Linked DNA regions of Homo sapiens: region 1 is linked to region 2. Evidence: promoter capture Hi-C in 16 types of primary human blood cells and fetal thymus (Javierre and others, 2016). All regions are on one chromosome and are shown on one strand. Each heading gives the region's core, a stretch centred on a gene start or on the middle of the fragment in contact. The rest is flanking DNA. Distances are from core to core; before and after follow the strand shown. Region 1 holds the start of MAZ (MYC associated zinc finger protein). Region 2 holds the start of TBX6 (T-box transcription factor 6).

Region 1 (4,156 bases), core at 1,048-3,547, 290 kb after region 2:
ACCCTTAACCCGTATCCGTGGCAAGGCGTCTGGCCAGGCGCCCACCCTCTGCCCCTGGCCCTCCCGGCAGCCCTCGGCATGTACCTTTGTTGCAGAGCTCACAGACATGGTGAGGACCCTGGCTGTGCACCTTCATGTGGTCCGAAATATAAGCCGAGCTCAGCATCTTGCCACACACGTGACATGGCACTTTCTCCTCGTGTCGTACTGTGTGCGCCCGCAGCCGATCCTTCGTGGCGAAAGCTGCCTCACATTTCTGAGGAGGGGGGAGGGGCGTGGGGGGTGTCACAGGAGAGTTAAAGCTTGGTGGGCTGGGGAGGGGGGAGCAAGAGATTAAAGGAATCAGAGCCTTGGGGATCTTTGATCTGTAGGAAATGGGAGTGACATGATGAGGCCTTGAAGAAGGGATGAGAAAATGGAGCAAAAAGGCAAAAAGAAGAGAGAGAAAAAGGGGGTCTGAGAGACTGACTCAGACAGCTACCATGAGGATCAAAATCATGAAAACCAAGACAGGAGGAGGCGGGCTTCCTACCTCACATTTGAAGGGCCGTTCTGTTGAGTGCACTTGTCTGACGTGACTGTTGAGGTGATCCGGCCTGGGGACACGTTGGGGTTGGGGTTAGGGCGGAGGTGGTGCGCCCCAAATCCACCAAACCGCACCACAGGCCTTTCCGAGGATCCCTGCGCCTCCTCCCGGAGCCCAGGCCGTCACAGCGACACTTAAGCAGGAAATCCCTCCCCTGGAGCCCAGCAGCCGCTGCCGCCGCCGCCGCCTCCTCCCACGCGAAGCTTCCGTCAACCCCAAGGCCCACCTCCTCGACAAAGGACCACCCCTTGCTCCCTGGTAACCGGGAGAGGCTTCCTCCCTCCGCCCTGGGAGTGGCTCCCCTTCCCCAGCCTCAGCAGCCGCCTCCCTCCCCGCCAGCCACGGCCAGGCCACCTCCGTCGCGTCCCTCCCTCCCCACGGCCTAGCGGGCGGCCGAGGCCCCGTGCACACCGGGAGAAGCTCTTGCCACAGTGGGAGCAGTTGTAGGGCTTGTGCACAGCGCCGTCATGTGAGCGCACGTGGTAGCTCATGCGGTCCTTGCGCTTGAAGCGCTGCTGGCACACCGGGCACTGGTAGGGCTTCTCGTCCGAGTGCGACAGCTTGTGTCGGTTCAGGTGGTAGACGTCGCGGAAGGCCTTGCCACACATCTCGCAGGCATGGTTCTTCCGGATGCGCTTCCCCGAGGCGGTCGTGGTCACCACGCCACCGGCGGCCACTGCGGCAGCGCCGCCGCCGGCACCCGCCTCTCCCCCTCCCCCGCCGGCTCCGCTCAGCTGGGGCACGCTCAGGAGGCTCAGGGGCACCATGGTCGGCATCTTCATAGCACCCGAGGGGACCCGGCCGGCCTTGGCTCCCGTGTGGATGGCTTCGTGCCTCCGGAGATTGTAGCCGTTCTTGAACTCCTTGGCGCACAGAGCGCAGATGTAGGGCCCCTTGCTCTTTGTCTTCTTCTCCAAGGCAGACGCGACCGGGGCCACGGCGACCGTCGAGGTTGGGGCTACGACGGCGGTGGCCGCCGCCGCGGCGATAGTGGCGGCGGAGGCGGGGGGCGCGGCCTCGGCCGCGGGCGCCGACACTGGCGGGGGTGGCGGAGGGGGCGCCGGAGGCTGCTTCAGGGCCGCTGTGTCCACCGTAGAGGCGGCGGCAGGGGCCGGGGGCGCGGCAGCGACGGCGGCAGCAGCGGCGGCAGCGGCCGCAGCAGCCGCGGCGGACTCCTGGGCGGCGGCGAGCACCGGGAGCAAGTCCACCTGGAGGGGCTCGGCCGCCGGGGCCTGGGGCGTGGGCGGGGGCGCCGGCGCGGCCTGCGGAGACAAGGCGCCGAGTGGGCCGCGGGTGCGGGCGGGCGTCCCCCCCCAGCCCGGGCCGCCGCGGCCGGCCCTACTCACCTGGAATGGACTCTGGGCGCAGCCCTGGGAGGCAAAGAAGCGGGACTGGAGCTCAGCCCCGACCTGCAGGGGGTTCTGGGCGTGACCCTGAGGTGGCGGGAAGGAGTTCATGAGGCCGCCCACCCCCCGGGAGTCCAGGCCCAGCACGGGGAAGGGGGGGGCCAGCAGCGTGCAAGGAAACACCGGGAACATGGCCTCGGCCGCAGCGGGGCCCCCGGGGCTCAGCGGGGGCCGGGGGCGCGGGCCGCGCGGGGCCCGGGCTCGGGGCGCCGCCCCCGGCCGGCCGGGCTGGGCCGCGCCGAACGCATGGCCCGCGGGCCGCCCCGCCGCCCGCGCACCCCGGCCGGCGGGAGGGAGGAAAAGAGGGCGCCTTGCGGGCCGCGGAGCGCCGCGGCGACGGCGGCGGCGACGCCCCCTGGGTGGGGGCGGGAGGCCCCGCGGGGCCGGGGCCGGGGGCGGGGGCCCGGGCGGCGGCGGCGGCGGCGGCGGCGGTTGGAGCCTGGCGGGGCGGGGTGGGGGGAGCGAGGGAGCAGCCTCGGCCCCCGCCGCGCGCGCGCCCAGCCGGCGCCTCGGGGAGGGCGGGGGAGGGCGCGAGGGAGGGAGGGGGACAGCTGCGCGCGCACCGGGCGCGCGGAGGGGGGGTGGGACGGGAGGGAGGGCGGGCAGGAGGGGGTGTGGGCAGGGGGGTGGGGGCGGGGGGAGGGAGTTGTTACCTGGAAGATGAAGCTGCTCCAGTTGCTGGGATCCATGGCGGAGGGAGGGAGGGAGGTGGCTCGCGCTCACCCTGGGGCGGGAGGAGGAGGCGGCGGCGGTGGGGGAGGGGGAACCCGGGAGGAGGCGCGCGGGGCGGGCAGGAGGGGGGAGGTGGAGGGTGGGGGAAGCGGAGCACACTACGCGCGGGGAGGGCGGGCGGGGGGCGCGAGGACACACAAGAGGCTGGAGCGGGCGCGAGCGCTAGCGCGAGCGCGCGCGTGGCCAGCGGGAGGGGCAGGCGCGAGAGGGACTCTGGCGGGAGGAGGGACGGGGGAGCCACCCAGCAGCCCGAGTCGCCCCGAGCGCGAGACCCCTGAGACGGCTGCTGATTGGCTGACGATGGCGCAGGTGGTGGGCGCGCGGGAGACAGGGCGGCTTCTCTCCTCTTCCCCCCGCCAACGATTCCACTCCCCCTCCCTCCGCCAGCGGCCGTTATTTCGCGCGCACGCGCACAAGGCCGCCGTCGTTGCCGAGCGGGAGAATGGGGGAGCGCGCGCGCCGGGGGCACGGACGGGGCGGGGCTAATCCCTGAGCGCGCGCCCGCCTAACGGTCGCAGGCCTCATGCTTCGGCTTCCGCTTTTTGCGTCCTGCAGGCCACCGTCCTCCCCGCCCCACCCCAGCGGTGTATTTACAATCCTGCGCTGAGTCGTTCCCCGAAGATGGCGCCCAGTGGAGTCGCCTGCCTTGCTCGCGGCCCACCCCGAGGCGGTCACACCCCGGTCCCGCCCCCGCAGCCCCAAAAATCAGGCGGAAGCACCGGAGCAAAAACTGTATTTACACAACACGGGGTTATACAAAAATTTGAAAAGGCGGAGTGAGGAGACGACGGTCAGGAGGCGCCACAGCGCTGGCCGGCGGCGAGACCCAGGATGTTTGCCTGCAACACAGGAGGGAGGGAGACAGCGACGTTAGAGAGGGGCGCGGGGCGCAGGACAGGCAGAGGAGGGGCAGGGCCGTGACTTCACCTTCAGGAAGGACTCCATCTGTTTCCCCGTTATGCCCTCCACGCGTTCCAGGTCCTCCACCTGGCGGGACAGGATCGATAGGGGACAGGGTCTCGGGGGTACCCGGTCTCCCCCGCCCCCGCCCTCCCCCAGTCCAGTGGGCTGCTACCTGGCTGAAGGGGCCGTGGAGCTCCCGCCAGCCCACGATTAGCTGGGCCTTCTTCGGGCCAATGCGCTGAAGACTGCGGAGATCTCGGGCTGAGCCTTCGTTCAGCAGATCCAGTATTTTTTGGCGCCCATGAGCCAGTAGCTCCGGGCTGATCTGTAGCTCCCAGCAGTCCTCAGCCTTCTCCTCAGGCTCTAGGGCATCCAGGGACTCCAGCTGGGAGGCAAAGGGAGATGAGTGACACGCAGGGCAGCCAAGTGCTTTGGGCTCCTCTGCCAAGACTAGGAGCCCAGCACCAGCTACCTCCTGCGCTCCAGCCTCTTCCTCTCTTGTCAAGTGTGTCCAAAATCCCGCCCTCAG
Region 2 (4,433 bases), core at 1,117-3,616:
GTATCAGAAAAATTGCCCCAGACTCTGCAACAACATGGAGCTTGGGTTCACCAGCCTCCCTTTCCATAGTCCTCATTGCCACTGCTGCTGTCCAGGGTCTGATTTCACTACCCTGAGTCTCATTTCCTTATCTCTCAGTGGAAGATAAAGCCACTGCCTAGCACCCAGGATTGTTACAGGGATCAGATTAGATGCTCAGGAAGATGCTCTTGGGACACTGCAAGGGACAGGATTCTTCAGGCGTCGCTTGGAACTGTGGTGCCTCTGTGAGGTGGATGTCCCAGGCAGAGCCAGCCAGCCAGCCCTGACCTGAGCTCGCTGCTGACCCTGCCACAGATTGGCTGTGTGTCTCTGGACAGGTGGCTTGGCCACTCTGGACCTCTACCAAATAAAGAGCTGGCCGGCCAGGCACAGTGGCTCACACCTGTAATCCCAGCACTTTGGGAGGCCGAGGCGGGTGGATCACAAGGTCAGGAGATTGAGACCATCCTGGCTAACACGGTGAAACCCCATCTCTACCAAAAATACAAAAAAAAAAAAAAAAAATCAGCTGGGTGTGGTGGCGGGCGCCTCTAGTCCCAGCTACTCATGAGGTTGAGGCAGGAGAATTGCGTGAACCCAGGAGGCAGAGCCTTGCAGTGAGCGGAGACAGAGCGAGACTCCGTTTCAAAAATAATAATAATTAATAAAGAGCTGGCCTAAACAAGAGGTCAAAAACTCAAGTGCCAGGCTGGGTGTGGTGGCTCACGCCTGTAATCCCAGCACTTTTGGGAGTCTGAGGCAGGTGGATCACCTGAGGTCAGGAGTTCGAGAACAGCCTGACTAACATGGTGAAACCCCATCTCTACTAAAAATACAAAAATTAGCTCGGCGTGGTGGTGGGCGCCTGTAATCCCAGCTACTCGGGGCCAAGGCAGCAGAATCACTTGAACCCGGGAAGCGGAGGTTGCAGTGAGCCGATATCGCGCCGTTGCACTTCCAGCCTGGGCGACAGAGCAAGACTCCCTCTCAAAACCAAACAAACAAAAAAACCTCAAGTGCCTGCAAGGCCAAGCAGATACTGTAGATGTGTAAAGGGTAGCATAGATTGGCAGGGTTGGGAGTTGGGGGCAGGCTGGGCAAACTGGAGTGAGCAAGGCCTACTTATATTTTAATACTTTAAAGTTATTTTTATTAAACTGTCTGCTGTCCAAACATAATACATGTTGTAGGCCAAAATGGCCATGAAGCTACCAGTTTGCAAACCCTGAACTGTGAAATCTTTTAGCCACTTCCCTATCTTCTCTGTTGGAGCCATCATTAGTACTTAAAAAAGTACCTTTGAGTCAGGGAGTTCTATTCTACTCTGTGTTTGTGAGAAATACGGCCCTGCCCCTCTGGGCCACAGTTTCCTCATATGTAAAATGGGGCCACTCATGTCCACTTCCCAACCCCAGTGCCTTGTGGTGAGACTGTTGCTCCGGGGATGACGGTCCCGCCCCTCCTTTCAGGAACAGGCCTTTGAGAGCAGCCAGAAGTACAAAGAGGGGAAGTACATCATTGAACTCAACCACATGATCAAAGACAACGGCTGGGACTGACCCCCGCTCCCCCGACGCATGTGGCTCCAGCCCGGCCTGGCCGCCAGGGAGCGCCACTGGCTTCCCGCCACCCGAAGGGAGCTCTGGACCCTCAGAGCCCCTGCAGAGGACGGATCTAGCTCCTGTATATATATTTTATTGCATGCACTGTGACCTTGGGGGGAGAACAGAAGGGGGACGACGCCCCCGCACCTCCTGCGATCTGGCTGGCTTGGATCTCGTTTTTAACCCGTTCCTGCCCCACCTGCCCTATAGTTATGGCCTGTGTTCTGCTCTCCTGGTCCCAGTGCACCGTCTGCTCTGTGAACTCCTCCCACCAGGCCCTTCTTACCCCACGCGTGTCTGTCCCCCTCGTTCTGTAGCGTTTGTACATAATAAAACAATGGAGTGGAGACAGCTCAGGCTCGCGTGTAATCCGGGAAGGGGGAGCTCAAGCGGAGATTTCCGCCCCTATAGACCTGTGCGGTTCTGAGCCCCGGCGGGGCATGGGGTAGGCACAGCCGTCCAAGCTGGGTCTCCGGGAACCGGGACGGTTTCACTGCTGGCGGAGGTCCTGAGCCCACTCTGGCTGCCTACGCCGTGACCTCGGCTGATCTGCGTCTGCTCATCTGCAGCGTTTGGCCGCCGCCTAGGGGCAGCGTCCCAGGGAGGCAACCGCGCCGCCGGCCTCGCAGCCCCCTCGCGGTCGGACTGCAACTCCCAGCGGCCCCCGCGTGGTCCGTCCGGCTCCTTCGGGCGCGCCTCAGCGCTGAGCCTGCCGGGAAGTGTAGTTCCGAGGGTTCCCCAGCGCGGGACCTTCGGGAAACCCTGGCGCGAGGCGTCAGAAGCTGTCGGACTGTGAGCGCCTTCGAACTTTGGAGGCTTGGCTCGGGATGGAGGTTTTTTTAGCATGGGGACCAGGGAGGACTACGGTGCTCGGGACTGGGCTGCGGCCTCCTCGCGGCCCCGAGTGCCCTGTGAAATCAGCTCAGGCCGCGTCCCTCTAGCCTGCACTTTCCCTCTGTTCACGCTGCTTCCCTCCAGGGCCCGGCCTCCAAGTGAAGGGGGGCGGAGGGCGGTCACCTGCCAGAAGGTCTGGGGCGCCAAGGTGTGTCCCGGGACTCTTGGCTCCGTCCAGGTTCCAGGCCCCGCCCCCCAGCTTATCCCTAGCCGGGGCTCCCCACCGTGGGAACGGGGACCAGCTGGCCGGAAGCGCCAAACTGCGTCCCTGTCCGAGCCCTGGGGATCAATCAAGCCGAGGAGTTAATTATGTAATGAGGGGGCAGGGGGTCGAGGCTAATGAAGCCTCCCGGGGTGGGGAGGGAGGGGAGGAGGGGACCGTACCCAGGTATCCGACCCCCTCTCGGACCCCTTCGAGGCCCCAGGGGTCTCCACCCCAGCCCAACTCCAGGGCCCCAAAGAGGGGAGGGGCTGTGATCCTGGATCTGGAAGGGGCTGAGCTGTGAGCTATAAAGGGGGCATCTCGCAGCACCGGGGGCCCTAAGCAGCGAGACCTGAGGCCAGACGGAACTACAACATGTACCATCCACGAGAATTGTACCCGTCCCTGGGGGCCGGCTACCGCCTGGGGCCCGCCCAACCTGGGGCCGACTCCAGCTTCCCACCCGCCCTAGCGGAGGGCTACCGCTACCCCGGTGAGCGTTGGGACCAGCTCCTGGGTAGGAGAATAGGGGGGCTGTGGCCCTCGGCTGGCTCCTCATTCTTCCCCGGCTTCCAGAACTGGACACCCCTAAACTGGATTGCTTCCTCTCCGGGATGGAGGCTGCTCCCCGCACCCTGGCCGCGCACCCACCTCTGCCCCTTCTGCCCCCTGCCATGGGCACTGAGCCGGCCCCATCAGCTCCAGAGGCCCTCCATTCCCTCCCGGGGGTCAGCCTGAGCCTGGAGAACCGGGAGCTATGGAAGGAGTTCAGCTCTGTGGGAACAGAAATGATCATCACCAAAGCTGGGAGGTGAGGGGCTGGCCAGGGTCCGTGTTTCTGGTGGGGGTCTCTTGGGAAAGGCAGAGTCCCTGGGGAGGGGGCTAGGACTGGGTGGTTCCCGAGGGGCTAGAGCTCTGCCTAGGCCTAGAATCTGACTATGGCCTGGGGCAAGGGTTACTCTGTGGCAGGAATCAGGAGTCACTCTGTGACAAGGGTTAAGGGCCAGTCTGTGGAGTCTGTGGCTGAGTTTAGGGACCAATCTATGGCAAGGGTCATGGGTCAGTCTGGGGCAGGGTCAGGAAGTCCCTCTGGGTTATAGGTTAGTGTGTGGCTTAGACCAGCATCCAGACAAGGACAGGGGGTCAAGGGCCAGCCCATTGACCAGCATCAGGGAAATCTGGCCAGGATTCGGGATCAGTATGCAACTCGAATAGGAGTCAGTATATGACTAGGTCCAGGGTCACCCTAGAGGCAGGGACACGGTCAGTGTTTGACCTTAGATGAGGTCTTTAGCTGGGGCAGGAACTCAAGCCCTAGCATGGAAAGTCCTCGGCCCTACTGCAGGCAGGGTATATTTTTTCTAAAGCAAATTCATCTAAGAGCTGCAGATTCTGGTGCTGGAGATCAGGGGAGGAGAGGAGGGTGGGGACAGGAAGCTCCTAGCAAGAAAGTTAGTCACCCCTGCTTCTGCAAATAGGCTTTGAGGGGTAGGAGTCATGGCTCTGTTCCTAACCTGCTGTGTGACAGATCACTTAACCCGTCTGTCCTGTTTCCCCAAATGTAAAATGAGACAAGAAAACCTTCCAGCTCTAAGATTCCGCCCTCTGGCTTCTTTTTTTTTTTTTTTTTTTTTTTGAGATGGAGTCTCGCTCTGTTGCCCAGGCTAGAGTGTAGTGGCACGATCTCGTCAGCTCACCGCAACCTCTGCTTC

Evidence for each region. Contacts are between HindIII fragments. The CHiCAGO score rates a contact against its expected background, and 5 or more counts as called.
Region 1: a contact is called between the fragment with the promoter of MAZ here and the fragment with the promoter of TBX6 in region 2, in 1 of 17 cell types (neutrophils). The highest score is 6.5, in neutrophils.

The regions. Positions count from the first base shown.
Region 1 is chr16:29,804,670-29,808,825 of GRCh38, reverse strand. It overlaps MAZ (MYC associated zinc finger protein), which reads right to left and starts at 2,297. Exons shown (of 5, transcript NM_002383.4): 1 at 1,933-2,297; 2 at 998-1,848; 3 at 533-596; 4 at 85-256. The coding sequence starts at 2,124. It overlaps KIF22 (kinesin family member 22), which reads right to left. Exons shown (of 14, transcript NM_007317.3): 12 at 3,800-4,012; 13 at 3,652-3,711; 14 at 3,442-3,563. The coding sequence ends at 3,516. MVP-DT (MVP divergent transcript) reads left to right here. Exons shown (of 4, transcript NR_186424.1): 4 at 1-182. RefSeq lists enhancers at 507-746, 3,317-3,366 and silencers at 827-1,496, 2,397-2,536, 2,667-3,006, 3,747-3,796. The HindIII fragment of the contact is 3,714 bases long and covers 792-4,156 here.
Region 2 is chr16:30,089,857-30,094,289 of GRCh38, reverse strand. TBX6 (T-box transcription factor 6) reads left to right here and starts at 2,366. Exons shown (of 9, transcript NM_004608.4): 1 at 2,366-2,417; 2 at 3,049-3,214; 3 at 3,298-3,532. The coding sequence starts at 3,097. YPEL3 (yippee like 3) reads left to right here. Exons shown (of 4, transcript NM_031477.5): 4 at 1,491-1,976. The coding sequence ends at 1,580. RefSeq lists enhancers at 1,707-1,896, 3,029-3,902 and a silencer at 2,117-2,376. The HindIII fragment of the contact is 24,011 bases long and covers 1-4,433 here.